Linked DNA regions of Homo sapiens: regions 2, 3 and 4 are each linked to region 1. Evidence: promoter capture Hi-C in 16 types of primary human blood cells and fetal thymus (Javierre and others, 2016). All regions are on one chromosome and are shown on one strand. Each heading gives the region's core, a stretch centred on a gene start or on the middle of the fragment in contact. The rest is flanking DNA. Distances are from core to core; before and after follow the strand shown. Region 1 holds the start of LEO1 (LEO1 component of Paf1/RNA polymerase II complex). Region 2 overlaps MYO5A (myosin VA). Region 3 overlaps MYO5C (myosin VC). Region 4 overlaps MYO5C (myosin VC).

Region 1 (3,280 bases), core at 313-2,812:
TACTTTTCAGGGACAGTACTCTAAATGAAAATGAAACTGAATCACTGTCAAATGGAATACTTGTTTTTCCAGTATTCCAGATAGTTTTCAGGTTATCTATGTATCTTCTCTTGCAACATCCGCTTCATACACAAAAGCTCTAGGATTGATGATTACATACCCAGTCCCACCCATTTGGACCCTGTTAAGCACTGAAGTTTACTACAAAAATATATATCATATAATCTCCAAACTAAATATTCATTGTTGCTTGTCCAAGACCAAAACTCTCATAATGGCCTAATTAGGTAATGTAACACAGGATGTACTCTTTTCTCACTTTTTCTTCTAAGAAACAGAGCCTTACTCTGTCACTCAGGCTAGAGTGAAGTGGCGTGATCATAGCTCACTGCAGCCTCCAACTCCTGGGCTCAAGTGATCCTCCATTCTCAGTTTCCTGAGTAGCTAGGGCTACAAATGCATGCCATCATGCCTGGCTAATGTTTTTATTTTTAATTATTTTATTTTATTATTATTATTTTTTTGAGATGGAGTCTCGTGCCCAGGCTGGAGTGCAGTGGCGCGATCTCGGCTCACTGCAAGCTCCGCCTCCTGGGTTCACGCCATTCTCCTGCCTCATCCTCCCTAGTAGCTGGGACGACAGGCGCCCACAACCACGCCCGGCTAATTTTTTTTATTTTAGTAGAGACGGGGTTTCACCGTGTTAGCCAGGATGGTCTCGATCTCCTGACCTCGTGATCCACCCGCCTCGGCCTCCCAAAGTGCTGGGATTACAGGCGTGAGCGACCGCGCCCGGCCAAAAAAATGGTCATTTAAAGCTTAAAAAAGCTGTTTGTTAACATGTATATTATTTTTAAATGAATTAGTAACTTAAAAATTTATTACCGTATTAGTAAGAATACAGTAAATATCAATACCCGTACCTGTAATCCCAGCACTTTGGGAGGCCGAGGCGGGCGGATTGCCTGAGCTCCTGAGTTTGCGACCAGCCTGGGCAACACGGTGAAACCCCGTGTCTACTAAAATACAAAAAATTAGCCGGGTGTGGTGGCGGGCGCCTGTCGTCCCAGCTACTCGGGAGGCTGAGGAATTAGAATTGCTTGAACCCGGACAGTGGAGGTTGCTGTGAGCCGAGATCGCGCCACTGCACTCCAGCCTGGGCGACTGAGCGAGACTCCGTCTCAACAATTTTTAAGAGGGTAAAGGGGTTTGGGATGAAATAACTGGAGAACAGCTGCTCAGTAAGAAACAAAGGGCTTCAATCCTGACTCGCGATAGGTTTAATCCAGCCAGAGGCCCTTCCCCAGAGAGCGCCAGTCACCGCCCACCCCATCCACACCCGCAACCGAACGCAGGACCCCCCCGCCCCCTGGTAAGAATCCTGGCAAATAACAGATATTGACGAAATGGCCGGGCTTATATACCATGCATACCCAGGCGAGAACAGGTTCACTGGGCGAGCGAAAACTAGGTCACGTAAGGAAAGGAGTGTCTTCGGCGAATCTTTGCGACACTGTCGTGTTTCAGTGGTTCCGTGCCGTAAAGAGAGGCCGGGAGCTGCCCCTAACCGAGGCAGCAGCGGACGTGAGCGATAATGGCGGATATGGAGGATCTCTTCGGGAGCGACGCCGACAGCGAAGCTGAGCGTAAAGGTGGGTTCGCTGGTCTTCGGAGGATGGGTGCGTGGCAGGCCTTCCGCTGTGGGAGCCGGACAACCGTGGAGGCTCCAGCGCCGCGGGCAAGAGGTGGCGTTTCCTCCACTCCTGCCTCAGCGCCCCCTGCACTCCCGGAGGTGCCATCCTCCTCCGGCGGGCAGGATGGAGAGTCAGACAGTCTGCGCCTCGAGGCTCTGGGTGTCGGTGGAGCAGACGGTTCCTGGGAGCTTGTGGAGCGAAAGGGGCGCGGGGCATGGGTGGAAGTGCAGGCGAGCCTGCGCAGCGCGGGTAGGAACGTTGGAGTCCTGTTCCGCCTTGCCTTGCACAGGCCAGCGTAGAGTAAGGGCTGTTTTTGAATGAATGGAAATGAATGCAGGAATATGGGATGGGGTGGGCGAATTTACAGAGGGCCTCAGAATGCCGTCTTGAATGAAACCAGAGCATGGTGTGATAGGGAGCTTGAGATGTCTGGATGACGAGTCTGGGACGGATAATGGGATGGGGTTACAGATAGATGTTTCACATAGGAGAGAATGTGTTCTCTAAGAGCTTGTGCAGAAACTCCAGAATTTCCGGAGTCTGTGATGTTAGATTGGGGAGTGCATGGGGTCTGTGTACAGAGAGGAGGAATGAAGGATTTGTTGATGAAATGAATGAATTAGTGTATGTGCATGCTGCTTGGAAGTTATTTCTGGCACAGGATTGTGGGTGTTTTTTTAAAGTTTACTTTTTTAGAGACAGGGTCTCACTGTGTTGCTCAGGTTGGCCTTGAACTTCTGGGCTCAAGCCATCCTTCTGCCTCAGCCTCCAAGTAGTTGAGACTACGGGCACTTGAAATATGAATAGGAGCTATTTGAAGTGAGAACCCAAGACCAAGTTCAGAATTCTTGCAACCCTCTAGGCTCCAAGTAAAGTGAGTCTCTTGTAGACAACATATATCTAGTTGTTATTTTCATCACCCCCAAATAAAACACTGTTCATAAAGCACTTACTCCTCATATGCTCCTTCCTCCAACCCCTGTCTGCTATTGTTTCTGTACTTATCTGTTCTGGGAATTTCATATAAATTGAATCATGCATTGTGGTCTTTTGTGTCTGGTTTCTTTTACTTAGCATAATGTCTTCAAGGCATTGTAGCACATATCAGTACTTTATTCATTTTTAATGATTTAATAATATTCCATTGAATGTGCACACCCTAAATTTGTTAATCCATTTATCTGTTGATGGACATTGGGTTGTTTGAATAGTGCTACTGTAAACATTCCTGGTTCCGGCAGGCGGATTTGCCTGAGCTCAGGAGTTGAAGACCAGCCTGGGCAACATGGTGAAACCCTGTCTCTACTAAAAATACAAACTGTTAGCCAGGTGTGGTCGTGCGTGCCTGTAGTCCCAGGTACTCAGAAGGCTGAGGCATGAGAATCACTTGAACCCAGGAGACAGAGGTTGGCAGTGAGCTGAGATTGCATCACTTCACTTCAACCTGGGTGATAAAGTGAGACTCTGTCTCCAAAAAAATAAATAAATTCATGTACATGTTTGGGTGCCTGTTTTTAATTTTGGGAGGAGGGTATTATGTAGGAGTGCAGAGTCATATGGTAATTCTTTAATATTTTGAGGAGCAG
Region 2 (3,280 bases), core at 504-3,003, 390 kb before region 1:
GTGCTGTAACCAGTGTATCAATTAGTGGTACTAAGGCCAGAGTACATGGAATAACTCAGTAGATGATTGTTATTATTAATAAATTATTTCATTTTTTGGTCATTTTTTCTTTTCCTAAATTTTACTAAGACACTCTTCATGGATCACAGTGATACTAAAAGTAAAATTGCCTACAGAGAAACTGGAAATCAGTATACATGTTTACACAATTGCATTCTCAAGGGGCCATCTTTAGTATGCATATCCTTTTTTTAATTTCAGAAACTATGGAGAAGAAGTTAGTAGAAGAAACGAAACAACTGGAACTCGACCTTAATGATGAAAGGCTGAGATATCAGAACCTTCTGAATGAGTTCAGTCGCCTGGAAGAAAGATATGATGACCTCAAGGAAGAGATGACCCTTATGGTGGTGAGTCAAACACTTTTGTTTTTTTTTTAATGAAAAATTTTAAACATATACAAAAGTAAATAGAATAGTAGAATGAACCTCCATATCTTCTGTGTACCTACCACCCAGTTCCAGAATGTTCAACACATATTCACCTCCCATTCCATCTCCCCAACCCACTCCATCCAATGGATTGGATTATTTTAAAGCAAATCTTAGAAATCATATAATTTTATTCACAAGTACTTCGGTAAAGTCAAACAGTTTAAAGACTGGGCTATGTGATAGTATAAAGTCAGTAAAGTTGGATTTTTGTTTTTGTTTTTGTTTTTTTTTTTGAGATGGAGTCTCCCTGTGTCACCAGGCTGGAGTGTAGTGGCACAATCTCGGCTCACTGCAACCTCCGCCTCCCAGGTTCAAGTGATTCTCCTGCCTCAGCCTCCCGAGTAGCTGGGACTACAGGTGCCCACCACCATGCCCAGCTAATTTTTTGTATTTTTAGTAGAAATGGGGTTTCACCATGTTGGCCAGGATGGTCTCGATCTCTTGACCTCATGATCTACCCACCTTGGCCTCCCAAAGTGCTGGGATTACAGGCATGAGCCATTGCGCCCGGCCAGTTGGACTTTGTTTTATATATTGAATGGCCTAATGTAAAATTTACATGTAGACTGGTTTTGATTATAATTTTGAAGATATATTCCTATGAAAAGAAAATTCAGACTCCATTTGTAATGAATTATCTATTTCAAGGACTCTTCTGCATTTGCCAATGTACCTTTCATACTTGTAATAATTCTGCACATCCTCCCCATTCCATGTATCCTGCTATCAGGAAACAAAGAGTTCCCAAGCATCCCTACAAGTACCAGCCTTAAAGGTAACCTAATTATACAAATGACCAGAAATGCCCTGAAATATCTCATAAAAAGCCAGATAATTCAGTATCTGTGGAGCAGAGTATTTTCTTCAAATTTTGCTTCTATCTGGACCTACTGACAAAGTTCATTACAATATGACACTTAAAAGTCAAAATAAAAGAGATTGTGTAATACAAAAGATAGGCTCTCATCACCTTGCAGATGAGAAAATCCTGTCTAAAAGAGACCAAAAAGCTAATATAAATCCCACATTGGACCATTATTTCAACCCTCACTACTCTGATTTATGTGTGACAAAGAGAAATTAGAAGTAGATGCAAGTCACCATTATAACTGTTCTTATAATTGACAAATCTAAAGACCCTTGTTAAGCTTCATCTTCCTAGATCACCGTGCTACCGTTGGTCCCATTGAAACCTTTCTTCCTTCACATTCTGTAATTCTTAGCTTTCTCTTGAATCCTTTTCTTCTTTTTCAGTGTTCATGTTCCCCAGTTCCATTCTTTGGTGTGTTTTTGTTCACTCTATTTATTAGATGACAATGCCAACATTTATGGTTAATCTCTGTTTCAGTTATGGTTAGAGCTAAGCTTTATAACCCAGTAGGTGTTTCTGAGACCCCCTAGTTATTTGGGATGTTAATAAGTGGGATTGGAAAAGAAATTCTTAGGTAAAATAAATGTGGTAATCTACTAGGTTAAACAGAGATAAACAAATGTCTTTTCTGGAGAATTTCTTGGATTCTTTAATGGTGCATGCAATATGAATTTCAGAAAATAAAATGAGAGAAGCAGGTGCCATACATGTATCCCTCTCTGAGCATATTCCAGAGATATCCATCTGTGAGGAGGTCATGGGTCTCTTTAGTCGAGGAGGTGGCCATTTCTAGAAAGGTCCTCCAGTGACGCCTCCTCCAGCAGCTTGACACGGCTCCTCCTTCCTGCTAAGCAAGTCTGCCTGCTCTCCATCTGTTCCCAGCAGTGCTCTAGAGGTAGTTTTAGTTGCTCAATTTCTTATTTCTCAGTCATGTGTCCTCTCCATTGTATGCCTGTGACTCAGTCATTCCTCTTGGGAGACAAAATGGTCAGAGGAAGGGAAAAGGAGAAAGCAGAGGAAGGGAGATCAGAGCTCACTTGCTTCCCACTCATTTCTTCACTAGATCTCCTTTTCCTAGCTCCAGATATAATCAAGATGACAGTTTTTGCAGAAAATATTTGCCCAGAATTGCAGAGAATAAAAAACTTGATCTTTTAACCCATGACAATTAAAATATTAGTGACAATATCTTATTTTAATGTTTAGGTACAACTAAACAGCTAACAGATGAGTACTTGACTAATATTAGACTGACGCTGTTCTGTAAATGACACTCTCACTGCTTCAATCCAGAGCTAATGAAGCATTTGGTTGTAAACAGAGTCGTCATATGAATGGAGGAAACTCTAGGGAGGGGACTTGATACACTGCCTCCAGCGCTTCCCATAACCTATGTGATACATGGGCCAAAGAACACTAATAGTGTCACTCATTGCCAGCCTCTAGAGTTGTTGGCCCTAGTACAAGAAGTACTGTAGCATTTTTCTCCAAGAACATTCGGTTGTCCAGGGAATATAGGGGCAGAGGCAAAGAGGAAGGACCAATCCAGGGCTAAGGAGTTTCAAGCCAATGATGAAAAGATCATGAGGCATGGGCATCCAGGTTTATGAAGTGTTTAAAGATAAATTAATTCCAGAGAGGGGAGGGAAACCAGCATGTCAATCATGGGGTCGTTAGTCTTGACAAAGGGATAAAACATGTTCTGGAAAAGAAGGAATCATGGGAGAAATCAGGAGCAGAAGAGGAGGGAGGTGCAGATCTTGAAGGAGAACGTGATGATCCAGTCAAATATATATCCTTGTAATTGAAAAACGTATAAACGGGGGAACAAAATCCTAAAAACAGAGAACTGAAAAGTTACCAACAAGGAAGTTGCTGAATCACTGCAATCTCCTAACAATCACAGCAGCAGAAG
Region 3 (3,280 bases), core at 351-2,850, 290 kb before region 1:
TGAGTCAATTCCCCAAGTGGGAAAGCAGGGAGAGAGGTGACGAGAGGCCTGGGGGAGAGTGTGGTGTGTCTGAAGTGGCAGATCCCCCTCTGTTGCCTTGCTCAGTTACCTCAGAGAAGCTGGGCTTCTGCCCTTTTTTCCCCAAACCCCCATAGATTAAAAATGTGATTTCTACCCAACAAATGCCATCACACTGAGCCCTCTCCCGTGAAGCTTCTTATTAAGGTAGCATTTTGGAGGAGGAATTAAAATTGATTGACTGAAAATCCTTTGGAAAGGCTTCTAAGAATATTTGTAGAAAATTCCCAGTCCTATAATTATTGGTCCTAGATTTGGGATCCATCTCCACCCATTTGTATCAGGAACTTGAAATGTTGGACACGTTAAATTTGGACAAAGCCATCTGACTTTTTGAAAAGCTGCCGCCCCTTTGCATTTTTTTCCCATAGCAGCACCTGCAGCTGAATTGTTTTTGACTCAGAAGGTTTCATTCTTTCTTAGAAGGAAGGAAACCAAATGCCACTGCCAGTCCCTTCCCTTATAAGGTCAGGCACGTCAAAGCCAGCTCTGTGTTACTGTGATATTGGTCAGCAGGGGGTGTGGGTAGAGCGCAGGGAGGGGCAGGACTGTTTCCATGGCTTCCTACACTGTGTCCTGAGGCTTTTTAGTGCAATCATGTAGATTTCCTGGTGGGCTGGAATGGTGCCGGCAGGGGAGCCTGCCTTGGGAGTTCTCCTGCCTGAGAGAGGAGCTGGGAGTCACATCCTTGCCTGAGGACAGGAGCCCTTTGTCCACACTGGCTGAAGGGAAATGGGAGCACCTCTTCCCTTTTTTCATCTGCTGACCAGCGGGGCAGCTCTCATGCCCTGGCTTGGGGGAGAAGCAAGATTTCACTTTGTGTATTCAGGAAAAGTCCCACCCCAGCCCTCGTGTCAGCTGAGGCACTAGCTCAGCCATGGGACTCCCACCAGCTTCTGCCTGGCAGCAACACCTGGGTACCTCCTGGACCAACCATCCAGGCAAACCCCTGGCCACACGAGGTGGGGCAGGGTGAGTGCACACTCTGACAAGTGGCCCAGGATGGTTCAAAGGGAAGAGAGAGGGCTGCATCCACATCCACAGGAACAGGGCAGGGTCTAGAGAGGGTGGCCTCTATGGCCTTAGTCACCGCTGACATTCTTTGGTTAAAATGAAAAATCAGCGTGGGACGCAGCCCTGGACTCCCTGGCATTGCTGCAGGGGTGGTCTGCCAAGGGCCAGGTGCAGGACCCGTGCTGCTGTAGCCCCCTTGCTCTACTCCCAGGTCTATCTCCACCTCCTGAGGCTGGGCGTCCTTGTGCCAGCTACTACTCAGCTCTTGCACAGGCCTGAGTGTGGGCACGGGGGCCTTGGCCGGGTGGGATTGTGTGTCTTTGGATGGCTGGGCCACCTGACGGGGCTTGTGCTTGTTTTTGAAGGAGGATGACAGTCACCTGAAGGTGTTCTGTGAGCTCCTGGGCCTGGAGAGTGGCAGAGTTGCTCAGTGGCTGTGCAATCGCAAAATCGTCACAAGCTCTGAGACGGTGGTAAAACCCATGACCAGGCCTCAGGCTGTCAACGCCAGGGATGCACTGGCCAAAAAGATCTATGCTCACCTGTTCGACTTCATTGTGGAGAGAATTAACCAAGCGTTGCAGTTTTCAGGCAAGCAGCACACTTTTATTGGTGTTTTGGACATTTATGGGTAAGATTCTCTTCAGTGAGCCTGTCTTTCCTCCTTTAAATGTTGAGAGCCGCATGGTTTTTAGATCATTTTGTTCTGGTTCTTTTGTATTTCACATGATTAGAAAGATAACATTCTCTGCTTTTGCCCCTATAGATGCTAAGTACACTCTCCTGGGCTATGGTGCCATTTATTCAAAGTGCATTAAAGAGATGCTGAATTAGGAATGACCAATGTCAAGAGCTTACTGTGTGCCAGCTCTGAGGCTGCTTGGCTTCCATGGGCTTTCTCACTTAATTTCTTAAACAACCTTATAACTATCCCCGTTGTAGAGCTGCAACAACCAAGGCTTAGAAAGACTCAATAACTTCGTCACAATTGCTCCGCTGGTGGGAGAACCCAGCACAGTTGTGAGGCTCCTGCTTTTGCTTTTCCCACCAAAGGCCCCTGAGGTGTGGAGCCCCAAGGTCCCTTCCCATTCGAATCACAGGGGATGACAAGTCACCTAGGCTTGCACCTTGCCCAAGCCCAGCGGCCAGAGGTGGACTGAACCCAGGTCTCTGATCAACCACCCCCCTACCCCAATCCTTTTCCGTTCTTGGGTGAGAAGGTCTTGGATTTTCCCCAGCCCTCCTCCAGGAGGTCTTACCCTTCATCCCACCCTGGAGTTGGGTTCTTTTTCATTCTCTCTGCCTGGTCCTCCTTTTCTAAACCCCGGGCTCAGCTCGTGCTGAAACAGCTATGGAGTAACCAGAGTGGAAGCTGGCATGGAGGGCTCTGTGGAGATTGTTATCCTTCAGGCTTTTCTAGCAGCTGGCCCCAGTGCCCAGCCCTTGCCCCTCTCCTGGGACCCACCCTGGTTTCTTAACAGGAGAAGGGGAAGATTGACCCATGAAAGGCATCCTGGAGTGTTCCACCTGGATTGGGGGATCTTCCCCACACCATGGCAAAAAGCAGCTCAACCCCATTCCCCATGCAAAGGGGAGAGCTGAGCTCTGGCCTTCACGGCCCTGCTGCTGCCTCCTGGGGAGGAGGGGGACAGGGCCACACCACGCTGTTGGACTTGCACCCAGGTGGAGAGGCAGCTTTTCCCATAGCTGTCAAATGGGAGACAGTCAAGGGAGCTGCTTTGTTTAATTTAGATCCTAAGTTAATACATATGGCTCCCAATTAATAGTACGTGTCAACAGTTATAAAATGCTTAATACATTACTGGGATAGCCTAGTCAATTATTTACCTTGTCTTCTTCCCAGAAAGTGTTTGAGCAGCCAGTTAAAAGCTTAAGTGAACTTTTAAAAATGGATAGTCCTCATTAAAAATAGTCCTGTTTCATTGTGGTGGAAATACGTAATTATTCTGTTATTCCCTGTTCTTTTGGGTGTTTTTAAGATGTATTTTTAAATGACAGTCCTTTATTTTAACAGTATATTATTTCTTTCTTTTTTTTCTTTTTTTTTTTTTTGAGACGGAGTCTTGCTCTGTTGCCCAGGCTGGAGTGCAGTGGCACCATCTCGGCTCACTGCAACCTCTGCCTCCCAGGTTCAAGCGATTCTCCTGTCTCAGCCTCCTGGGTAGCT
Region 4 (3,280 bases), core at 241-2,740, 270 kb before region 1:
ACCAAGGACATGGCTGCCATGATTTTTGTCACATACTTTTGGCTTCTGTAAAGTGCCCCCAAGATTTTCCCACTGCCCTGTGGAAGTCCAGAAGAGGTTGAGAAATAGGCTTTGTAGGGGTCGGAGGTCAACACCACCTTCTCACCCCATCACTGCATCTCGGCTGCTGGTGGTGGCCCCACCGCCTCCCCCGTGTACTAGGGAAGACGCTGAGTGGGAGAAAGAGCACAATTGCTGGGGCAGACAGGAGTGCTCAGGGTGGTCTTGGTAGTGTCCCAGGCAGGCAGGGTATCAAAGATCAGTGCCTTTATCCTCAGGACAGATTGCACCACCCCCGCCCTATGACAACAGTGGCAGGTAAGGCAGCGGAGTCCCCAGACACAATGTGCTTCCTCTGACACTCCTGGCTTTGATCCCCTTTGATTTTCCAGGTGGACATACATCGAGTTCTACAGTCGCTACGGCATTCTCATGACCAAGCAAGAGCTTTCCTTCAGCGATAAAAAGGAGGTGTGCAAGGTGGTTTTACACAGACTCATCCAGGTCAGTTTCCCCACCTCCTGGGATCATGGTCTCCTTCCTGGAAGCACATCTCCCAAACATGCTGTTTCATCTTTGTCTTGAATGCTCAGGACTGTAATCATGAACACCTGAAAGGAAAGAAAATGTGCCCTGAGCATTTGTCTGCTGAAGAGACCATAGCAGAGTGCTCAGTGGGCCATGAGTCCCCGTTAGGGACCCACATCCGAACTCCGGCCTCCCCAGTGTCCTCGTATCCTGTTTAGCTCTCCCACGATCTAACCCAGTCCTCTGTGGACCAGGCTTATAGGATATGGTCAACTGGGGTTGTCACCAAGCCACATGGGCTCCAGGCATGGTGCCTTGTGTGGATTGACATCATTGCTGCAGCGATGAGTTGTGATGGGAAAGAGATGGGGAGTTATAAGGTCCAGCAAAGGGGATGGTGAAGAGAACCCAAAATGGAGACAGAAAACCAAACTTCCCCAGTTTCTTCTACTCCAATGTGGAGACCACGAGAGAGTGGCTGAAGTTCTCTGGCAGCCCAACTGAGAATCGCCGCAAATGACACTCACTCCCCTTCTCACCCACAAATGGATTCCTCAGCCTAAGTCCCATTTCTTCCTCCAGGGTAATTTTAAACAAACAACTCAAAGTATACATTTCTAGATCATGATGTGAGTTTTCTGCCTTAAATGTCAAAATCACAATATTTCTGGCACCTTTGAATCCCTAAAGCTCTTTTCCAAATACTGTATTATAGAAAATCTGACAGATTTTAATTCTAACTATATCATTTTTCTCTTCCAGGATTCTAATCAGTACCAGTTTGGTAAAACCAAAATTTTCTTCAGAGCAGGACAAGTGGCTTATTTAGAGAAACTTCGATTGGATAAACTGAGGCAGAGTTGTGTTATGGTACAAAAGCACATGCGTGGCTGGCTCCAGAGGAAAAAATTCCTCCGAGAGAGACGAGCCGCCCTGATAATCCAGCAGTACTTCCGGGGTCAGCAAACTGTGAGGTATGTTGGAATCAAGGAACACATGTGGAACTGTGGGGCTTTCTGTGCTGATCATCTCCGGCGGGGAGGACTCATCAAGGACAAGGGACCTTTCTCCTGTGACCCAGGGTGCAGACGTGCATGGGTCCCCTTTGTGGTCGTGAGCATTAGGGCAAGAAAGGTCCGTCTCTCAGGGGCAGGTAGTGCTGGCTCTGCCTGGTGTCTGTGTGGTGAGCCGACACCCAGGGCCCTGCAGGGAGGAAGCGCTGGTGAGAGTGTTACTAAGGAGAGTCAGGGTTCCGGAAGCTCAGGGAGAGGCCCGGGGCCCCTTTCCTATGGGAACTGAAAATGCATAAGATCAGCAAGGCCCTAGTGAAGATCCAAAGGACAGATGTCAAGAATAGCCAGCGACCAGCCTGCCAGCAACAGGTGGGGTGCACCATGGCAGAGGGGGTCCCTGCAAGGCCTGGCAGCAAACCAATCACAGAACCCCTAAGCAGGAAGACCACAGCAGCCCCAGCCAAGCCAAGGGCTGAGGGGAGGGTGGTCCACCAGCTGCGCTGATCCTACCTGCCTCGAGGGGTCCTGAGAGTCCACACAACCCTGCCAGCCCACTGAAGGACCACGGTCATTCCGGGACTTCCAGGGCTTTGGTGTACCTGCTGGAAAGCACAAGACCAGGGTGCCCCTAGATAAACTTTGTGTTTCTCTCTGCCTGCTCTGCCCCTTCTTTGGGATGCTGTGAGGATGCTTGAGAAGGCCGGCGTTTAGGGTCAGGCTGCGTCTGCAAGCCTGACTTCTTCCTGAGCTGGAGGCTGAACTGTGGCAGCATCTGGCCTTCTCTGCATGACCAGCGTGGTGTGGCATGGATCACACAGCTGGGCTGGCTTGCCCTCCTGTGCTTCTGTGCCCAGTTGATAACAGCAGTCTTTGGGGAAGGAAATCACAGTTATCTTACCCGCCAAGGCCACGCTCCCTTCCCATTTGGGGCTCACCAGAGCCTGATCATCCTGCCCTGCTGGCCTCCTGCCTATCCCATTCATTTCATCCCACTCCTGCCCCCAGTTTAGGCTCACGGCATCACCTGCCTTGCACTCTGATGGCACCGTGCTCCACCTCCCACCTCCTTCCCATCTTCCTACATCAGAGCCTGATTGAGACACTGCCCTGCACCTGCCTTTAAGGCCCGTGTTTCCTACAGAATAGCATTCAGTCTCTGACGTGATATTCAAAGCCCTCCATAGCCTGGGTGCATTCATAAGAATGGAAGCTCCATGAGGGCAGGGGCCACACTTGTCTGGTCATTCATACCCAGACCTAGCATGGTGGCTGTCATAGAAGGTGTTCAACAAATATGTTTTTAAAATAACAAATGGTGCACATCTATTTTTCTAACCTCATTGACGTCTAATTTTCTTCATCCATCTTATTCTAGTGATTCCAAACAAACTCCTTTTCTGAGTATTTCAGGCACTGTAGAGCCTCCATGCCTTTACTCATGCTGGTCCCTTATCCTGAAAGCCTTTTCCAGCCTTCACTGTGTACAGACATCCTACTGCATTGGGGGCTGGCTCACATACCCACTTTCCCCAAGCAGAATAACTGTTTTTTTCCCCTCTCACTTACAGATCTAGTTAGGTGGTATTTTATTTTTCCTCTTTCTTGGCCATTTGTTAGTCTTTCTGTACATGAGGTTGTAAACTCTAAAGGTAAGGACATTATCTTCACCTCTAGTCATTTAGACAGGGGCAGCAAACTTT

The links. Contacts are between HindIII fragments. The CHiCAGO score rates a contact against its expected background, and 5 or more counts as called.
Region 2: a contact is called between a fragment that was not itself captured here and the fragment with the promoter of LEO1 in region 1, in 1 of 17 cell types (total B cells). The highest score is 5.1, in total B cells.
Region 3: a fragment that was not itself captured here is called in contact with the fragment with the promoter of LEO1 in region 1 in 1 of 17 cell types (naive CD4 T cells); the score reaches 5.2 in naive CD4 T cells.
Region 4: a fragment that was not itself captured here is called in contact with the fragment with the promoter of LEO1 in region 1 in 1 of 17 cell types (endothelial precursors); the score reaches 5.7 in endothelial precursors.

What each region holds. Positions count from the first base shown.
Region 1 is chr15:51,970,060-51,973,339 of GRCh38, reverse strand. It overlaps LEO1 (LEO1 component of Paf1/RNA polymerase II complex), which reads left to right and starts at 1,562. Exons shown (of 12, transcript NM_138792.4): 1 at 1,562-1,652. The coding sequence starts at 1,595. It also overlaps a transcript of MAPK6 not described here. RefSeq lists enhancers at 1,293-1,868, 1,516-2,045, 1,869-2,445. The HindIII fragment of the contact is 6,227 bases long and covers 821-3,280 here.
Region 2 is chr15:52,361,684-52,364,963 of GRCh38, reverse strand. MYO5A (myosin VA) reads left to right here. Exons shown (of 42, transcript NM_001382347.1): 24 at 262-410. Among named protein-coding and RNA genes, the nearest start is that of MYO5C, 68 kb to the right of the region's middle. The HindIII fragment of the contact is 217 bases long and covers 1,645-1,861 here.
Region 3 is chr15:52,259,305-52,262,584 of GRCh38, reverse strand. MYO5C (myosin VC) reads left to right here. Exons shown (of 41, transcript NM_018728.4): 10 at 1,458-1,723. Among named protein-coding and RNA genes, the nearest start is that of MIR1266, 16 kb to the left of the region's middle. RefSeq lists an enhancer at 1,810-2,385. The HindIII fragment of the contact is 2,769 bases long and covers 216-2,984 here.
Region 4 is chr15:52,242,617-52,245,896 of GRCh38, reverse strand. It overlaps MYO5C (myosin VC), which reads left to right. Exons shown (of 41, transcript NM_018728.4): 18 at 432-543; 19 at 1,330-1,541. Among named protein-coding and RNA genes, the nearest start is that of MIR1266, 33 kb to the left of the region's middle. The HindIII fragment of the contact is 4,253 bases long and covers 1-3,280 here.